2 separate regions of the Homo sapiens genome follow, and region 2 is linked to region 1. Evidence: promoter capture Hi-C in human tissues and cell types (Jung and others, 2019). All regions are on one chromosome and are shown on one strand. Each heading gives the region's core, a stretch centred on a gene start or on the middle of the fragment in contact. The rest is flanking DNA. Distances are from core to core; before and after follow the strand shown. Region 1 holds the start of ADAM33 (ADAM metallopeptidase domain 33). Region 2 overlaps RNF24 (ring finger protein 24).

The links. Contacts are between HindIII fragments. The study calls those that stand out against the background at their distance.
Region 2: a contact is called between a fragment that was not itself captured here and the fragment with the promoter of ADAM33 in region 1, in 1 of the 25 tissues and cell types used here (dorsolateral prefrontal cortex).

Annotation. Positions count from the first base shown.
Region 1 is chr20:3,678,809-3,683,423 of GRCh38, forward strand. ADAM33 (ADAM metallopeptidase domain 33) reads right to left here and starts at 3,202. Exons shown (of 22, transcript NM_025220.5): 1 at 3,100-3,202; 2 at 684-763. The coding sequence starts at 3,196. RefSeq lists enhancers at 1-136, 2,627-3,520. The HindIII fragment of the contact is 20,528 bases long and covers 1,130-4,615 here.
Region 2 is chr20:4,005,789-4,010,916 of GRCh38, forward strand. The region is part of intron 1 of RNF24 (ring finger protein 24); the gene reads right to left. Among named protein-coding and RNA genes, the nearest start is that of RNF24, 7.2 kb to the right of the region's middle. The HindIII fragment of the contact is 5,241 bases long and covers 46-5,128 here.

The DNA.
Region 1 (4,615 bases), core at 1,952-4,451:
TGAGCATATCAAGGCTACTGCCCTCTTAGTTTGCAGCACAGATATTATGGCACAAACAGATGGGGCATGGTTATTCTGGAAGCGTGTGAAGAGCGGGATTGGGAAGAGGCTGGGGCAGAGCGTCCTGCAGAAGAAGCACATGGGGTGGTCTTACATCTGGGGGACATCAGGAGAGTGACCACTGCCCCCCCGATACCAGAAGTGGATTCCACAGGAGCCAGTGAGGCTGAAGGTTCAGGCCTTCGTGGCAGGGCCCTGAGAGGGACAGCAGTGTGTCCACAGGGTCACATGTTCTGGTCAACTTTGCAAAAGGTTTTCTTTTTGGTGCTTTTTTTTTTTTTTTTTTAGAGGCTCCTGAAAAGCTTCAGGACCCACAAACTCTGGACCCATTTCTGCCTGGTGGGGGTGGGGGTGGCCCAGATCATCCAGGGAGGGAGGGAAAGAGGGAGGTGGGGTGGAGAAAGCTGAAATGACTTCCATGTGTGCGGGCTCACGAGATCCAGATGTCCAAACCCCAGTGCCTTCTTCTGCCCACTTGAGGGGCAGGGGAGGCAGGGGCCTATAGGAGTAGTGACTTGGTGGTTCTGGGGACCCCAGCAAAACTAGAAGCTGTAATGTAGGGAGAGACAAAAGGGCTGGGAGGTTCAGGGCCCCTGTGGAGGGCGGGGAGACATGGCACTGACCGGCTCCTCCAGGCTGACGGTGCGCCAGGGTTGTCCATCCAGGACCCAGTGCGGGGTGACTGGCTGCCCAGGGATATGTCCTGGAGTAAAGACAGAGCACAGGGTGAGGGGGACCTGAGGAACACAGGGGCATGGGACAAAGCAGAGGGAGGGGGGTAGAGGACATCCCCAGGGAGGCACTGGAGGCCTTTTGGGGCAGACTTCACCTTCAACACGCGTGGGCTCAGCCTGGAGAAGGAGGGACGCCCGTGGGCATCCTTGGATCTGAGGAGCTATCAAGGAGGAGGAAAAGAGAAGGCTGGAAAGGGACAGCTCAGCTGGGGACACGGGAGTCCCCTGACCTTTGTCGGGGGGCAGGCTTGGGCTCGGCGATCACAAGGAAGAGGCCAAGGCCGCCAGTGCAGAGGGGAAGGAAAGAGCGCGGCAGCCTTAGGGATTTTTAGATGGGCAGCAGATGCCTTTAGGGTGAGAGATGTACGAAGAGAGGACACTTGTGCCCCCCCCATCATCTGAGAAAAACAACAGCCAGATGTTGCCTTGCGAGGTCCACCTTGCCCAGAGCTCCCTCGGGGACTCTGTCCTGGTGGCAGGGTTTTGGTACCCTGGCCCAGAAGGCCCCTCCTCATCTCTTCAAGGGGAGGGGACGCTTCTGGACGGAGCCTTGGTGCTCCCTGGCCGGGTGTGCCTAAGGGGGCTCTAGGAGGAATCCCAGAGCCAAGCATTACTCAGAGGGCGCCTGGAATGTTCCCCTGGAATGCTCCCAGCCCTCCACTGGCCCCAACCACTCTCACAGGCCCGCCCTGCAGGAGCCAGGCCCCAGGCACCCAGAGCCTGCAGCAGCCCTCCTTCCCCCGGTACCCAGTCCCAGCTCCCAGAACAGACAGCCTCCCCCCTCCACGCAGCCCTGGCCTCAGTCCTGCTGGGCTGATGGCTGCCTGTGGAAGTGACTCAGCTCCTGCTAGGCCACCCCAACTCCTTTTTTCTCCTCCACCTTCTCTCCCAGACTACAAACATCAAAGACCCTTCCTCCAAGAAGCCCTCCTTGATTGGATGAGTGAATTGCCATCAGGCAGATGAGGGCCGAGAGGAGTCTGCCACCTTGGAAAGGAGGCTAGAGGGGCCAGTGCAGGGAGGGCTCTGAGTGGATGTGGGGGAGGGGAAGGAGGGGAGGTCTCTCAGCCCAGAGAGCACTTAACTGAGAGTAGAGAACCAAGCTTTGCTGCTCCTAGGCCTCTAAGGGTTTGGGGAAGAGGTAGGGTGGGCCCGGGCACAGGTGTGGTGTGGGTGCAGTGTGGTGTGTGGGTGCTGTCCACATGGCCTTGCGCGCACGTGCTGGCCACGGGCACCCTGACCCCAATGAGGGAGAGAGGGGCAGAGCTGGAGCTGGAGCTGGAGCTCCGGTGACCGGGTGAATGGGGGTGGAACCCGAGGGAGCCAGGCTGGTATTGGGCACATAGACGCCCCTCTCCCAGGGGTCCCATCACCTCCCCTGACCCCAGGATAGGGCTCAGAGGGGAGGGAGCAGTGGACCGCCTGGGGCCCTCCCCTGGGGCCAGAACAGACCAGGCCCCTGTACCTGTTTGGTCCCCACACAGTGCTGTGGAAGCCACCGCCCAGTCTGCATAGCACAGCCCAGCCCCGCATGCCCCCTCCCTGGTTGCCCTCCCTGTTCCCGGCCAGGCACTTGCTGTGCAGGACTGGCTAATCCTCCCACCCGCTTGCAGAGGTTGTTCCAGCCCCATCTTAACATCTTTGTTTGGAGGGGTTACCCCGAGGAGACAGCTGCAGTCTTCCCAGAGCACTGCTAAACAGACACCTTCTATCTGGAGAGGCCCTTCTCTATCTCACCAAACAAGGCAACAATATAAACAACATACACACTGCCCTGCTGCCCTGGGAGGAGGGACGAGGGGTGAGCAGGGTGGAGGCCACAGCTAGTTCTGCAGCCTGAGAGCAAAGCAGGGACTCTGGGGGACTCTTGGGCATGGGGGCTTCCTAGAGGACGGAGCCCCGCTGAGTCCTAAGGGGTGGAGGAGCAGGAGCGGGTCACACGGTGGCCTGCGGATGGAAGCTGGTTGTGAGAGCGAGAATCCAGGAAGAGGGGGCTACGGCTATGGGCTGGGGGCTGGGCTGCCCCCGAGGGGGAGGGAGCCATGCCCTCTGCTTTGCCAGCGGAGTGGCAGCCGGGCAGTGTGGGCAAGTCCGGGCCCGGGGCCAGCCCAAGCACACTTGAGCGTCCCTGGGCAGGTCCCACGGAGACCCCCCCAAAGAGTCCCCACGCCCTGACCTACTGGCCGTATGGTGCCGGGGCCGTGAGACCCTCCGCGCGCTGACCCGAGCTCTGAGCAGAACCCATCCCCGCCACCACCACCGCGCCTAGCCTGCCCCTCAGGGCGCACCCCGCCCGCGTCCTCACCTTGAAGCACCCCGGCGCCTGGCACTGGCCAGAGCAGCAGCAGTAGTAGCAGCAGCAGCAACGGGGTCCCCCGAGCTCTCCGGGGCCTCCAGCCCATAGCTGTGAGCTCCTCGGCCTCTAGGCAGCGGCTCGCAACTCCGGCTCCGCCCAGGCTGGATTGCGGCCGACCCGTGCCCGGTGCAGCCTCAGGCCGCCGCCTTCGGACCTTCCCGCCCCCACCTCCCACCGCCCGCCCTCGCTCCCGCCTCCCCTCCCCGCCAACCCCGCTCGGAGCCTGGCCAGGGGCCCCGACGGCGCGCGCCATGGGGGAGCCGGGTCGCCACTCCCGGACCGCCGCCCCTCGAGGGGGTGGAGCTGGGCGGAGGAGGGAATCCGTGCGGCCCCTCGGATGACCGGCCCGAGCCGTCCCTCCCCGTCGGTCTCAGAGGGCCTCTACTCCTGAGAGGAGGAGAGAACCGCTGGGAAGGTTCTTGGAGGACCGCGGCGTGGTGGGATGAGGCGGTGGGCAAAGGCCGCCTCTCGCTGCTGAAGTTGGCCCCAGGAGCGCGATCTTCCGTGGTCTCCTGGGGCCGATCTCTGTCCCCTCCTTGCTACCCGTCCTGCCCCGAGGGTGCCCTGGCGGAGGTTGAGTCGGGTCATCCACCTGCACTGGGTGCCCCCAAGGATAGGAAGGTTCAGGCAACCGGCTGCCGCTGTCTTGGGGGCTTCATTGCTGGGCAAAGGCGATGCAGCAGACGGAGACAACCTTTCTTCCCTGGCGGTGGCCAGAGGGCAGAATTGCATAAAAGCTGCAGACTCCCAGGCCTGGGAGACCCTTTCGGCCTCAGTAACATCTGTTTCATGTTTTAAACTTTTGTTTTCCTACTCGGTGCAAATTTGGATGAGATGTTAACTTTTTTTTTTTTTTTTTTTTTGAGATGGAGTCTCCCTCTGTCGCCAGGCTGGAGTGCAGCGGCGCGATCTTGGCTCACTGCAACCTCCGACTCCCTGGTTCAAGCGATTCTCCTGCCTCAGCCTCCCGAGTAGCTGGGACTACAGGCGCGCGCTACCACCCCCAGCTAACTTTTGTATTTTTAGCAGAGACGAGGTTTCACCATTTTGGCCAGGATGGTCTCAATCTCCTGATCTCGTGATCCACCCGCCTCGGCCTCTCAAAGCGCTGGGATTACAGGCATGAGCCACCGCGCCCGGCCGGAGATGTTAACTTTTAAGCAAATCTTTTTTTTTTTTTTTTTTTTTTGAGACAGAGTTTCTCTCTTGTTACCCAGACTGGAGTGCAATGGCATGATCTGGGCTCACTGCAACCTCTGCCTCCCAGATTCAAGTGATTCTTCTGCCTCAGCCTCCCGAGTAGCTGGGATTACAGGCATTCGCCACCACGCCTGGCTAATTTTGTATTTTTAGTAGAGATGGGGTTTCTCCATGTTGGTCAGGCTGGTCTCGAACTCCCGACCTCAGGTGATCTGCCCGCCTCGGCCTCCCAAAGCGCTGGAATTACAGGCGTGAGACACCGCAC
Region 2 (5,128 bases), core at 1,416-3,915, 330 kb after region 1:
TCTGCACATTTGAAAAAAAAATTAAGGCAACATAAAGCATACTGATAGACAGCAGTGAAACTATTAATTTTGAGAATTCAATAAACACTGTCATCAAATGAACTGAATGCTCATTATTCTTACAGTATGATATTTGCACTTATTTTGCTGTCAATTAAACAATTATGATATTAAATCTGCTAAAGGAAGTGAAGAACTGTATCTGATACAAGCACCTGTCTAATCGGGAAAACATAAGTACCATCAAAATGAGAGACAAGCTAAGACTACATACATAATTAACCTTCTATAGAATCTATGGTTTATGGCTAGGTGTGGTGGCTCACATTTGTAATCCCCGCACTCTAGGAGGCTGAGGCGGGTAGAACACCTGAGGTCAAGACCAGCCTGGCCAACATGGTGAAACCCTGTCTCTACTAAAAATACAAAAATTAGCTGAGTGTGGTGGCGCATGCCTGTAATCCTAGCTACTTGGGAGGCTGAGGCAGAAGAATCGCTTGAACCCAGGAGGCAGAGGTTGCGGTGAGCAGAAAGAGCACCACTGCACTCCAGCCTGGGTGACAGAGCAAGTCTCTGTCTCAAAAAAAAAAAAAAGTCTATGGTTTACACAGGAGCAAGCTTTACAACAAGATGGAAAAATTTTCCTAATTCAAATGATCAAAACTTTAGAAGATGACAACAAAAGGAACGGGCAAACCTCACTTTAAGAAAAGTTGACAAATAAAAACAGGAACTTTAAAAGCAGGTAACCTGGAAGTTACTTACAATATAAAAACATTCACTACAGTTCATTGCAACTTTAATACACCTAACAGTAGTGAATCCATAAAAATTCAAATTACATTAAATTTCCAGAGCAAATTTGTAACACGAGGTTCACTTGTAACATTATCTAAATAGCAGTTTCCTTTCCCTTGCCACTGCAGGCTTTCTCCAACTCCCTGGGGTACTATGGAGGGCCAGTGCAACTCTCTGGTATCAGACTATCCTTAGGGCACATGGAGGGCCCAGGCCAGCTTTCCCAAGAGTGGCCAGCCAAAAGCAAGGCCACTGGCCAGCTATTCTTGGGCCAGCTGGCATGGAACAAAGTGTCTGGTTCCTACCTCCAAAGCACAGGAGGCTCTGCCAGCTGGCTTTCAAAGGACTGCACTAGTTGGAATGCTCACAGTTCCTTTCAAACCATCTGGCATTCTTTTAGAACCCTCAATTTACCCAACACTACATTCTGAGATTTGAATTGCTCAGATAATTGAAGGAGTCCCCACTACCTACCTAGGTAAGAAAAGAAAGAGGCAGAGCAAACGCTAAGTCAATTACTTCAAGAAACAGTTTCTACAACTAAAAACTGCTCTCAAGTTTAGCTTGTATATTTTGTATTTTAAAATCTAAAATATTCCCATGATTATTAAGCAAACTTTCAAAGTAAAAACCAAGACAAGTAATAAGAGAATAAGCTAAAACAGACTATTTAACATGCAGAAAAGCTGTAGGAATCCCTTAGGGTTAGAAGTACCTGACTCTCCCTAGCCTGAACTTCTACAGAGCCTGTCTGTATTTTTTATGTGGTCCTCAGAATATACTTCGTACTGCTACATATATTTACCCTCCCAGCTAGCTAGTAGATGAAAAGAACATTGTCTTATAGCTGTTTCAAAAGAAAAAAAAATCTGTTGATGATATATTGGGTGTTTTTAAAGCTCCATTTCCAGAAATAAGAAAACTTAATGTGGAATAACATGAAGAAAGAACCTCACCTCTGAGAAAACCAAATAAACAAAGAACAGGACTTGGCTTGAAATAAAAATATTTTATCAAGTGATCAAAATGATTTATTGGCTGGGCATGGTGGCTCCTGCCTGTAATCCTAGCACTTTGGGAGGTGCTGGTAGGGTCACTTGAGCCCAGGAGTTTGAGACCAGCCTGGGCAACATAGTGAGACCCTGTCTCTACAAAAAAAAAAAAAAAAAAAGAAAAAAAATTAGCCTGGCATGCTGGTGTGTGCCTGTGGTCGCAGCTACTTGGGAGGTTGAGGTGGGAGGATTGTTTGAGCCCTGGAGGTTAAGGCTGCAGTGAGTTGGAGATCACACCACTGCACTGCAGCCTGGGCGACAGAACAAGACTCTCTCTCTTAAAAACAAACACACCCCCGCCCCCCACAAAACCAAGAACAGCTGAATCATCATATTGATAGCCCATATACCCTAGGAGATATAGTATTTTGAACAAAAATATTATAGAGACCAAGTCAGAGTCAAATATTATAAACTGGAGGAGGCTATAATAATTACTATTATTTTTCATTGAGTTTACTCCCAAGACGAGTACTGAGTTTCGTGTTTTACATATTATCTCATTTGGAACACAAAACAAACACATGAGGTAGGAACTATTATTAACCACATTACAAATGAAGAAAGAGAGAGGTTAGGAAACCTGCTGGAGGTCACATAGCAAAAAGTGAAAGAGCTGGAATTCAACTCCAAGCAGTCTGATGCCAGAGTCCAGGTGCAAGACTGCAAATATATATATATATTATATATATAATATATATATTATACATGTAATATGTATAATATATATATTATATATATAATATATATATTATATATGTAATATGTATAATATATATATTATATATAATATATAATATGTATAATATATATAATATATAATATATAATATGTATAATATATAATATAATATAATATATATATTATACATATTATATATTATATATATATTATTTATATATATTATATATATATATATTTTTTTTTGAGACAGAGTCTCGCTCTGTCACCCAGGCTGGAGTGCAATGGCACAATCTTGGCTCACTGCAACCTCCACCTCCCAGGTTCAAGCAATTCTCTGTCTCAGCCTCCCGAGTAACTGGGATTACAGGCACCCGCCACCACACCCGGCTAATTTGTTGTATTTTTAGTAAGATGGGGTTTCACCATCTTGGCCAGGCTGGTCTTGAACTCCTGACCTCATGATCCACCCGCCTTGACCTCCCAAAGTGCTGGGATTACAGGCATAAGCCACCATGCCCGGCCCAAGACTGCCAATATTAAGTCATACTTATGAAAGAATGAAATGTAACATAGGGCAAAATTTGATCATTAATATATTCTTCATAATTGTTTCAATTCTTAAGTGTAGCAAAAAATGGTGAGTAATTAAAAAACATGGATTCTCTTGTTAGAAATTTTTAAAAATCAAAAGCTATTTTACCAGGTCAGTTGTGCCTCTTTTGCCCATGTACTGAGTAGACACTTGTGCCACCTGCTGTCCTAGGGGACAGAGTGGTAAACAGGACAGATGAGGTCCTTGCCTTCCTGGAGCTGACCTTCTATTAGGGGTAAGTCACACAAAAATTATTAAACAACAGAATTTCAGAGGGTGGTACGTACTATAGAGGAGGTAGGGAAGGCACGTAAACTTCTCTTTTGAGAGACTTAACCATGTAGGTAAATAGAAAGGGATAGAGGAGGGTCAGGGAAAAGTTGTTTGCTGAAGCTTATTCTGATTTTAAAGATGGGCAACGTCACGGCATATGTGTATGCTGACATGGATAGCCCCCTGGAGAGTTGCTGATGATGCAAGAGAGAGGGCAAAAATGCTAAAGCTGTGAGATATGAGGGGGCATGAGGTATAGAAGATGTGAGGAGGAACACAGTAGAAAGGGGAGCTTGCCTCCGACAGGAGACAGAAAACATGGGTCTAAGGAAGGCAGATTTCTACATTTGGTTGGGGGGAAGATGAGTGGTTTCTGTCTGATATCTCCTAAACCCTCAATGAACTATGAGGTCAGCTTATCTGAGTAGGAGGGGTGGGTTGCTGATAAGTTTAAGGAGTGGAGAGAAGTTATGAAATAGTGATAGGCAAAAAGATCTTATTAAGATTCAATGGTAGCTTTGCCGGGCAGTGCTGAGTGTCTACTTCGGATTTTTGGTCATGAATCTGAAGTTCTCTTGTAATATCCAGCCACTTGGGTGGTGTCATGGAAAAGCCAAATGAATGATAAAGCAGCTATAAATAGAAAAAAAAGGGTTTTTAATTTTAAAATTTTTAAAGAGTAAACAAAGGATGTTTTAAAAATATGTATCCAAATTAGCCAGGCATGGTGGCGGGCACCTGTAATCCCAGCAACTGGGGAGGCTGAGGCAGGAGAATCGCTTGAACCTGGGAGGCAGAGGTCGAAGTGAGCCGAGATCACGCCACTGCACTCCAGCCTGGGTGAAAGAGTGAGACCCTGTCACAAACAAACAAACAAACAAACAAACAAACAAACAAACAAACAAGGCCAGATGCGGTGGCTCATGCCTGCAATCCCAGCACTTTGGGAGGCTGAGGTAGGCAGATCACGAGGTCAGGATTTCGAGACCAGCCTGACCAACATAGTGAAACCCCGTCTCCACCAGAAATACAAAAATTAGCTGGACATGGTGGCGCACGCCTGTAGTCCCAGCTACTCGGGAGGCTGAGGCAGGAGAATTGCTTGAACCCGGGAAGCAGAGGTTGTGGTGAGCCGAGATTGCACCACTGTACTCCAGCCTAGGTGACAGAGTGAGACTCCATCTCAAAATAATAATAATAATATGTATCCATGAGATAAACACAAAAATACTGACAATGTTCTGTGAAGCTGTGATTTATGCAGCTCCTTTTGCTTCCATCTTCTCATCACAGAAATTCTTGCAAACAATATATTTGTCACATTTAATAATGACATATTTAATCATGAAGCTCAAGTTAGTTTCTTTTTGGTCATTTCTTTTTTTGTCATTTCCTAAGGTGGATTTTTAAAAAATGCACCTGACAGCCGTCATGTTGGTTCATTTCACTGCTTAAAAGAAACTCTCTCTGATGTCAATTGATATTTTCATTGTTGATTTCATTTAAAAGTAAAAAAACTTAATCCCCTCTCTCAATGAACACATACACATCTACAGTGCTTAATCTCAATGCCTAAACAGTGGTCACAAGGAAAATGGGAAGGGAGATGCTGGCCTGATGGCGCTGGGCACCTAGCAGTGCCAGGTGCATGTTCTTGATCTTGCAGCTGTGCTCTTAAAACACAATGCTCAAGATCCAAAACGTTCGGGGGAGAATTCCTGTCTGCACA